Linked DNA regions of Homo sapiens: region 2 is linked to region 1. Evidence: promoter capture Hi-C in human tissues and cell types (Jung and others, 2019). All regions are on one chromosome and are shown on one strand. Each heading gives the region's core, a stretch centred on a gene start or on the middle of the fragment in contact. The rest is flanking DNA. Distances are from core to core; before and after follow the strand shown.

What was found. The method cuts DNA at HindIII sites, captures the fragments that hold promoters and counts their contacts. A contact is called where the count stands out against the background at its distance.
Region 2: a fragment that was not itself captured here is called in contact with the fragment with the promoter of ZNF662 in region 1 in 1 of the 25 tissues and cell types used here (bladder).

What each region holds. Positions count from the first base shown.
Region 1 is chr3:42,904,492-42,909,359 of GRCh38, reverse strand. It overlaps ZNF662 (zinc finger protein 662), which reads right to left and starts at 3,218. Exons shown (of 5, transcript NM_207404.4): 1 at 3,192-3,218; 2 at 1,212-1,338; 3 at 451-567. The coding sequence starts at 1,245. The HindIII fragment of the contact is 13,922 bases long and covers 1-4,868 here.
Region 2 is chr3:43,296,601-43,301,491 of GRCh38, reverse strand. SNRK (SNF related kinase) reads right to left here. Exons shown (of 7, transcript NM_017719.5): 2 at 1,677-1,738. Among named protein-coding and RNA genes, the nearest start is that of SNRK, 13 kb to the right of the region's middle. The HindIII fragment of the contact is 3,494 bases long and covers 354-3,847 here.

The sequences.
Region 1 (4,868 bases), core at 1,969-4,468:
ACATGTGCTGTGTCCACTAACGGTTAAATGGATTAAGGGCGGTGCAAGATGTGCTTTGTTAAACAGATGCTTGAAGGAAGCATGCTCGTTAAGAGTCATCACCACTCCCTAATCTCAAGTACCCAGGGACACAAACACTACGGAAGGCGGCAGGGCCCTCTGCCTAGGAAAACCAGAGACCTTTGTTCACATGTTTATCTGCTGACCTTCCCTCCACTATTGTCCTATGACCCTGCCAAATCCCCCTCTCTGAGAAACACCCAAGAATAATCAATAAATACTAAAAAAAATTTTTTTAAAAAAAGAAGACATAAAACTATGGGAACACAGAGAAGAAATGCAATCCCACTAGTGTCTACAACACTAGATTAAAAAAACACCTATCTATGACATTTTAAAGATCATGACAAGAAAACTGGTCAGATGACCGGCACGTGTGCCCTCACTCACCTGAGGAGATGCCCCTTGGGGCCTCTCCATCCAGAGCTCCCCGAGGAACCGAGCACCAGGGTGTTTCCCCTCGCTCCAGCTGGGAAATCAGAGCCGGTTTGGGAAATGGAAATGCTGCTTAAAAGGAAAGAAATGGGACAGGCAGGTGAGTGGCATGGCACACAGTAATCCCAAGGCTCCTCCCAGGCCAGTGTCTTCAGGGGTAGGAGGGGAAAAAAACGGAAATAACTAGGAAGAACAAGAAAAGGAATTCCAGGGGAAAGGACAAGAGAGGGGCCAGGAGACTTACAAAGGTCAGGAAGTTGACAGACGACTCAGTAACTGTTTGAGTCAGCAAATGGATGATTTCACTCATTGAGGAATTGAGTCCTCAATTCTTACCTGTCCTCTCCCTCTTAGAGCTCTCAAGTTCAGACATCCTCATGAGGATGCTTGGAATTAGGCTGGATCTTGCAAACCGAGAGGGGAGGGAACTGAAGGCTCAGTGGAGCACCATGAATTTGCTCTCTTCTCACTATACCCACAACACAAGGGTAGGGGTTTGGCACCTCTCACTCTGGAGCAAGGAAGTCCTGTATAAGGCCCAAACTGATACCAGGACTTCCTACTTTCCAACGGCTGCTGAGGTTAGGTCATTAAAAATCCAAGAGCCTGAAGCTGCCATTGAGCTGAGGGTTATCAACAACTCCTGAGCCTTTGAGAAAAAAGGAGCCAGCAAACTCTCAAGGGTGGAGGCAGGGCCCAAAGGGAGAGACCCTTACCCAGGGAAGCCACAGCCCCATAATTCTCCAGCATCACATCCCTGTACAGGGCTCTCTGAGCAGGGCCCAGGCCGATCCATTCGTTCTCAGAGAAGTAGACGGCCACATCCTCGAAGGTCACTGACTCCTGAAACAACATGTGTTTAAATGCCCTAGGACAACCCCAGGACCAGGCCAAGAGGAAGGGGAGACAGGGCATCAAAAGGTACTGTGGGGGTGCCTGTGGGGATTCTGGATTCTGAATGTCTACAGGAACTCTATCAGCAGAAGATTTTTGCCTCCTATGTACAAAGAGACAAGGCATCAGCCATCAATTTTCTCATGTCTCTTCATCTTTATTTCAGCAAACATTTTCTCCTCTTTTTCATGAGTCTGCAAAAGTTTTCTTGTTTCATCCTTATACCCCAAACCACATCTGTGCTCTAGGTCCCATCCTCTCTCCACAATGTGTCCTCCTTCAGAGGTCACCCACCCTTGATAACAACTATCATTTATTAAGCCTGTGCCAAGCACTTGACATATATTCTTTGTTATGTCTCATAGCCTACTATCAGATCCGTTTTTTAGAAGAGGAAACTGAGACTCGGAGGGATTAACTTCCCCCAAAGTTCCAGAACTGAGACAGAACCCAGGCCTGTTTGACTCTGGCTCTTGCCTGTTATGCCACACTGCCTTCCGTCCCCATTCCTGCCATCCCTGCTGCCCCTGTATAGGACTCTTCCTCCTTTGTCCTCCCCAGTCACTGCCACCAGCCACAGAGGCAGCTAGGGCTCCTCAGAACATTCAGGTTGCTCTGAACACTGTACTCAACAGGGCAGATCCTCGTTGTGACTTTACTCCCTGCACCCCCACCACCCGCAACACTCTCACAAAGATCCCACCTCACTTGCTTACCCACGTCCCAATCTCCATGTCCCCATTTTCTATATCTCTAGGAGTCTCAGCTCCTGCACCTTCTTTCTCTCATCCTCTTAAGAAACAAATACTGCTGACCTCCAGCCGTTGGGACTTCCCGTAATTCTCAGCCACTGCCTCCTTCAGGGTCTCAGTCTCCACACTGTGGAGGAGCCCATTCTGGTCCACTGCACTTCAGTCCTTGCGCACTAGAAAGTCTCCACAGCTATTTATCCAGCACTCCAGGGCTCCAAGGCTTTGGCTGGCTCAACTTTGTCTGCCTAATAGAGTCCACATTCCTCTGCACTACAGACAATTCCATTCACTACTCACAGACCCAGCTTTCCTGGCCAGGATCATCAGCCACCACCACTCTCATCTCCGATCCTCTCACCATTGCATTGGGAAACCAAACTCTTTCCTCACCCTGTTCTGTGTCCTTGCACCTGCGGCTACTCTTGCCTGAATATCCAGTTCTTCCTTCCTGCTCCTGCATTGCAAATTCCTTTTCAACCTAATACCCAGCTCAAACATAACCAGCTCTGTAAAGGCAGCTCTGAAATTCTGGCCATTCATCGCCCCCGACAGCACTCTGTGCGCTCTGCCCCAGCAGTCGGCTCAACCCCGTGCCGCTGCACGTCTGCTCTCCTTGAGGCTCAGGTCCAGGGGTGTCGACTCCGCTGTGCTGCCTGTCCCTCGAGGCCCCTCACTCTGGGTTGTACCCCCATTTCCCAGCCGCCGCACCACCCCGTCTCCGGGCCTAGAACCCAGGGCAGGGCCAAGACTGCTTCCAGGCTCCGGCCCCGCACTCACCCGGCGCGCCCGGGGCAGCGCGGGCTGTCCCGGGAGCAGCTCGAGGACAAGGCCGAGGCGTGTCCCGCTCGCCAGCGCCACGGCCGCCATAGCCCAGGTCGCCCTCTGGGAAAGCGAGGGCGCGCCAGACCGGACCAGAGGCTGTTGGGGTCGCGGAAGAGCGCTCTGCACCTGGGCAGGCCTGACACGGCTACCCTGCGCCCTGCAGCCACCGGAGTAAGACCCCGACTCCACTCCCTGCCCGCCCCACGCCCGACTCCCCGTGCTCCACACCCGCCAGGCCCCAGCATCCGGGAGGCCGGGGCTCGGGCCGCTCCGGTTGCTCTAGGACGGCGGAGGGCGCCGCATCTCTGTGGTCCTCCTTTCTCGCTCGGGGAGGGAGGGGAGAGCGGTCCGGTTCTCCTGGAGACACGGACGATCCCAGGGACCGCTACCGGGGTAGGGGTGCAGGCGGCTGGGGAGGAATCCTTCCCCTGCGCTCTAGGCCACCCCTTCCTCTCCAGCTCGCTGCACCCTAGGTGGACAGATATTTGCTGATAGGAGGTAGCGGGTACTTCACTAGACTGCACCTGCTCTTTTATCTCTCCTTTTACCAGTTTTTGCATTCCCAGAGCAGACCTGTATTTTATGTCTTTTAACATTCTCATCTTTGTGCCTCTAACATGCGCCCGATGTCTAGCACCTCCTGGGGAGTTATTTCTTTAACTGCCAAGGAATATTTGTAGAATTGTCCACGAAAAGTCAAACTGTAAAATATTTGAAGGGATTTATCCTGAGCCAAATATGAGTGACCATGGCCCGTGCCACAGCCCCAGGAGATCCTGAGAACATGTGCCCAACGTGGTCGGGCTACAACTTGGTTTTACACATTTTAGGAAGACATAAGACATCAATTAATACATGTAAGATGTACGTTGGTTCGGTATGGAAAGGTGGGACAACTGGAAGAGGAGGCTTTCAGGACATAGGTGGATTCAAAGATTTTCTGAGTGGCAATTGGTTGAAAGAGTTAAGTTATTGTATAAAGACTTAGAATCAATAGAAAGGGATGTCTCAGTTAAGATAAGGGCTTGTGGAGACCAAAGTTTTATCATGCAGATGGAGCCTGTAGCAGGCTTCAGAGAATAGACTGCAAATGTTTCTCATCATTATCACACTACCGGATAGTCTGTGAGACTTAAAGAGGCTGTTCTATCAGTCTTAAGGTCTGTGTTGATGTTAATGCTGGTCAGCTGGTCCTGAATTTCAAAAGGTAGGGGAGCATAATGAGCCATGTCCAACTCCTCCTTCCCATTATGGCCTGAACCAGTTTTTCACGTTAACTTTGGAATGCCCTTAGCCAAGAGGAGAGATCCATTCATATGGTCAGAGGGCTTTGAATTTTATTTTTGGCTTACGGAATAAAAGAATGAATAAATGTTGAACCAGTTTTTCAGTTGAAGAAAGTAAGGCCCAAAGAGAGAAAATGGCTTACCTAACATTATGCAACATGCCAGGAAATTAAATTTTTTAAGAAGTGTGAAAATAAAGATTATTCAAATGAGAACAAAGACTATTATTCAGAGCTTGCTATATATGACAAGAGAGTCAGCCCTCATCACTTGCATTCAGCAGACTGAAAGTCAGGCAGAAGAGTGGGGAAAGCTTCACAGTGGAAAAAAGGAATGGCTTCAGGTATTCCCTTATTGGAAGTTGCTGGCATGGGGAAACTACAGGCGGGCTAACTAGAAGCAGGGAATCTTATGTAATTGGTAGGGGGAAATTTTTGGCTTTCTCTGTTTGGTCCTAAGTTGGAAGTAGTATGGGAAAAAGTAGGGAATCTGATAGTTTTTAATCAAATTGCTACCCCATCTCTACAAAAATAAAAAAAGAAAGAAAGAAAGAAATAAAGAAAAATAGCCAGCTCCTGGCTACTCAGAAGTCTGAGATGGGAGGATCACTTGAGCCTGA
Region 2 (4,891 bases), core at 851-3,350, 390 kb before region 1:
GCCTGGCCAGTCAGCACTGGTCTCATTTTTATAGCTAAGGCAATAGGCTGCTCTAGGTACAAGTGACATTAACTACAAAACCTAGGATTCACACCTAATTAATACATTTCAAAGCCCACATTGTTTATAAACATTTGGCCACTCTAATCAATGCCCCATTTAGGATAATATTATTTTTAGAGTTAAAATACCAACTATAAAAGAAGCATAAAGTCACTTTTATATTTATACCACTTCAGAAATGATCTGAATTGCATACCTAGAACCCCCTCAAAAAATTTATGTATGTTAAATTATAAGTTCAAAAAGTCAATGTTAATATGTTTACTAATATATTTTTTGCACTTTAGTAATTATTGTAATAATAAATAGCACTACCATTTACTGAATGAGTATTACACACCAGTCACATACCAAATACTTCACATTATCCTCATTCAATCCTCACAATTCCCCTCAAAGACAGGAATTATTAACCCCCTTTTGAGGCACAGTAACTTGGCCTAGGCCAAATGGCCAGTGTGTAAAAGAGCTGGGACTGAAACCCACGGCTGTCTGACACCAAAGTCCGTGCTTTAAAACACTATGCTACGCTGTGTCTGCAAACTGATTTCAGAACCAAAACTATTAATCCTGCTATTAAGATTTTTAAACTATTAAGATTTTTAAATAAGAAACTGATACAATGCCTAGGTGTGTGTGGGGGGAAGCAAATTTCTTCCATATGTATATTATCCCTGTCATCTGAACTAATAACTTTAATGACAGGATTAACAGGAAAATCCAAATTGAAAGACCTTGCTTTATTTGGACAGCAGTTCCCCAAAAGAAATTTTAATTTGGGTATATTTAATTTTCAAATATAAAAACTCTGGGGGGGGGGCAGGAAACTATCTTTAAATATTTAACTTCAATTAATTACAAGGGCAATAATTATGCTTAAAATTCCACCCAAGTCTGTTGCTATTGCATAAGCTTGCAAATGCCACTTTAGCTTTCAAAACACATTCCTTCAGGCTGCCCCCAAGTTATATAACTTTGTTCTTTTCATCTATCATTTTAGTTTAGATGTGTTCCTGGAAAGTGACATATAAATCAGATTTTATAAATGAATCTGATTTTTGAAAATAAAAGTTTTATTACAAAAATAAATGAAAAAGCTTTTTTTTCAGAGCCTCAGACACCTAGAGATAAGTACTATTAAACCCTAATGTTTCTCTTCCCAAACCTTTGCCAGCAAGAGGGCACAGTGAAATGATTTTTAATCTATAGCAAGCTATAGATTAAATAGAAATAATCTAATTGGTATCTTCACAATGAGTACCCTATAGTGAAACAATCACTCTTACTACCAAATAATTTACTTTTTATATGAGCACCCCTTTTCCATAGTCTATGAAACCACAATTAAATTGTATAGCTAAGAACAGGACACAATGATTAACTGAAAGTTTAGACGAAAAATATCCTTGTTCCTGAACATCTTTTTAAACACTAGTCTACTGTCTAATCCTACTATTAAGTACATTTTGAGTTAGAGTACAAAGTAACTAAATCATTTTTTTTGATCTCTGAGGATCTTGCAGCTCCCAAAAGTCATTCTGAACATCAATGCCCAATGTTAAGATGTGGCTTATATAAAGTAAAGGTGAATTTGTACTGTCTCCAAGACATACCCTGCAAACTGCATACTGAATAATCCTTATTATCACAGTGTTTTGTTAGTTGCTTCTTTTTCCTAAAAGAAAATAAAGAAAAAGATACAGGTTTAGTTCTATTTGTTTGAATTTTGCTTAAAGTCAAAGTATATACTCTAAGGCTGGATCTAGACACATGTATAAAAATAGTAAAATTTGTCTTTAGTAACCCAGTCTCCTATTATCCTTCTGCCTTCTGTGAATTACAACTCCTTTAAGCGAAATTTAATAAACAGGGATTTCAGAGTGAACAGAGATTGTTCCAGGTAGACAGGTCAGAAAAATTATTCCACTGGAATGAAGAAATAATAATGAACAAGGCCGGGTGCGGTGGCTCACGCCTGTAATCCCAGCACTTTGGGAGGCCGAGACAGGTGGATCATGAGGTCAGGAGCTCAAGACTTGCCTGACCAATATGGTGAAACCCCGTCTCTACTAAAAATACAAAAATTAGCCAGGCGTGGAGGCGGGCGCCTGTAATCCCAGCTACTCAGGAGACTGAGGCAGGAGACTTGCTTGAACCCAGGAGGCGGAGGTTGCAATGAGCCGAGATGGCGCCATTGCACTCCAACCTGGGTGACAAAGCGAGACTCCATCTCAAAAATAATAATAATAATGAACAACAGTACAATTGCCATTTTTAAAATGCCTCTTGCAACAGGCCCCGAACTCACATTTCACTGAATCCTCCCCATGAAACTGCATAGTAGGTACAATGAGGCTTAACTTGCCTGTGAAGCAGCAGTCTCTAGCTCCAATCATGCTCAGCCTGGCACCAAAACCACCCAGTCTCTAGGAGCCCCTAAAGGCTCATGAAACCCTCACGCTATAGCAGCCAAGGACGGCAAGCTTTACAACACACTGTCCTCTAGAAGGCAAGTGGAAATCACTTATGATGCCAGCATTAGGGATCACACAAAGCACCTTCATCATCCGAGGACTGTCACTTGATAGTAACAAAGAAACTATCACCACAAACAAAAGGAATGTGAGCAAATCACTTATATCCAAACTTCATGGCACAATGAGGGAATACTGACCAAGGTAGCCTTGCAGGTCTTCCCATGAAAATAAACTATTACATGAATAACAGAGAGGCCTAAACATTCACATTATGCCAACATGATAATTTACACTATACACTAATGGTGAGAGGTGTCCAGGTAAAGTTCAAATGCACTTGGGAGAAAAGGAGTGCAAGGGAATGGAGGAAACAAGATAGGACAGGTGAAAGGACGAGGAAAGGTGGTTGACCTCTGGATATGAAAGCAAGTGTCCTGCCAGGAATGAGGGAATGTGGAGCAACAGTTCTGCAGCACACACAGGGCTGGCAAAGCCATGGGCACAGGTCCATATCTAGTGACAGATGAACCCTGGGATGCCTACCTGACTGGTTCTTCAGCTCCAAGAGGGATATAGTAGCTCCTTCCACTATCCTTGCCTGCTTCTCTTTTTCCAGCAGCCCCTGTTTCATCCCTAGTCTCTGTGGCAAAGCAGTGCGGTAGTACAGTAATAAGTACTGGTTCTAAAGACCAACAACTGCATTTGAATCCCAGCTCACCAATCACTAGCCAAAGGAACTCAGCAAGTTACCTTCACCTCTCTGTATGGTCAGTTTCTTCATTAGAAAATGTTAGTAATAAGAAAACAATCTCATAAGATATGGTGAGGATCAAACGACTTAATATAGGTAAAGTGTTTAGAATAGTGCCTGGCACAGAGTAAGCATTCTGTAAATACCAGCTACCACCACCACCATCATTGTTACAGACGACGTTCCCACCATCCAAGCAGAAATTCTTTCAGTTGCTGACCCTACTTCAAGCGAATGAATTCACCAAACTATTATCTCTCTTTTGCTTTCATAAGATAGACCAGTTCAGAAACTGAACTGCTGTTCAGTTTCCTAAAATAAATTGAAAATGAGTGCTGTAAGGTATAGGAAATAATGTCTCTAGTTAGGCATCAAAGACTGGGGGTTTTTCAATAAAATATCTCACAAAATGTAAGTATTTGCTTTTAAAATGATATTAATATAATTTTCTATCAAATTTAGCTTTTCAAAAAGGACTTAATACTCCTTTACATTTTTTCACATCAAATATATTCTTACAGAAAATCTCAAAAACAATTATGAAAGAAAAATCTGTTTAATTCAGGAGAAAACTACAATTAGAACATACAGACTAGTAAAAAAGGGGGGGAGGAATTTTGAAAAAAAAATCCATTATCCCACCCTTTATGATAACATCGCTTTACATTTTGGTATAGATTCTTTCAAATTATTTTCTATTCATAATATATGGCCAGACACAATTTTAAAAAATAAAATGGGGATAATACTTACGGGCTTGGGGGGATGTCAGGGTAAAAAGAGATTTGTAACTATTTTCACAATACTTCTCTCCAAAAAACAAGCTGGAAAAGTTAATACAAGACTTTCACTTTAGAAAGTTTAGAAAATGCATAAAAGCACAAAGAAGAAAGTAAAAATCACCTATACGCTCATCTATGATGACTTCTCATCAGGTCCGAGTGTACATCCTCTATACTTAACAGTTCTTTACAAAGCTAAGATTTTCGACATGAAGTTTGATAACTACTTTTTCCTCTATTTTATAAACTGAACATTTTCCCATGCACTAAGTTCTTCTAGATCAATATTTTAAATGACTATACAGCTAAGATAACATGTCTTTACACAGCAACCACTAGATAGGCCATTCTAGAGCAACCTTTTTATTTAGCACAGGCATATAACTAGGCTGGACCTAAATGAAATAGGCCAACTTGCCAAGAGTGCTCATAATATAAAAACTTATGTCTGAGAAACAAGTACTGTTATGTGCTGCAAGAATATACTGATGTTCTCCTACTGAAGACAGCAGAAGCAACTGAAGCATGTGGGTGTGGCTGGAGAAGAGGAAGGAAGTGTGGGTGGCCCTACACACGTTTTGCAAGCTGCTGAAAACAGTTGTAGAACCAGCTTCTGTTAAACCTACTATCAATTTGGAATTCACCCTGTTATTCTTGTTAAAACTCACTTTTAGGTTTTCATCAACATCATCACCATTGCAGTCTCATCTGTACATCAAACAAATGCCTCTTCCTCACACCTCTTAGAGAGAGGTAGGGACAAAACAGTATGCTCAACAAAGGCAGCTCTGCCTGGATACCACTGTGAACCAATCCAT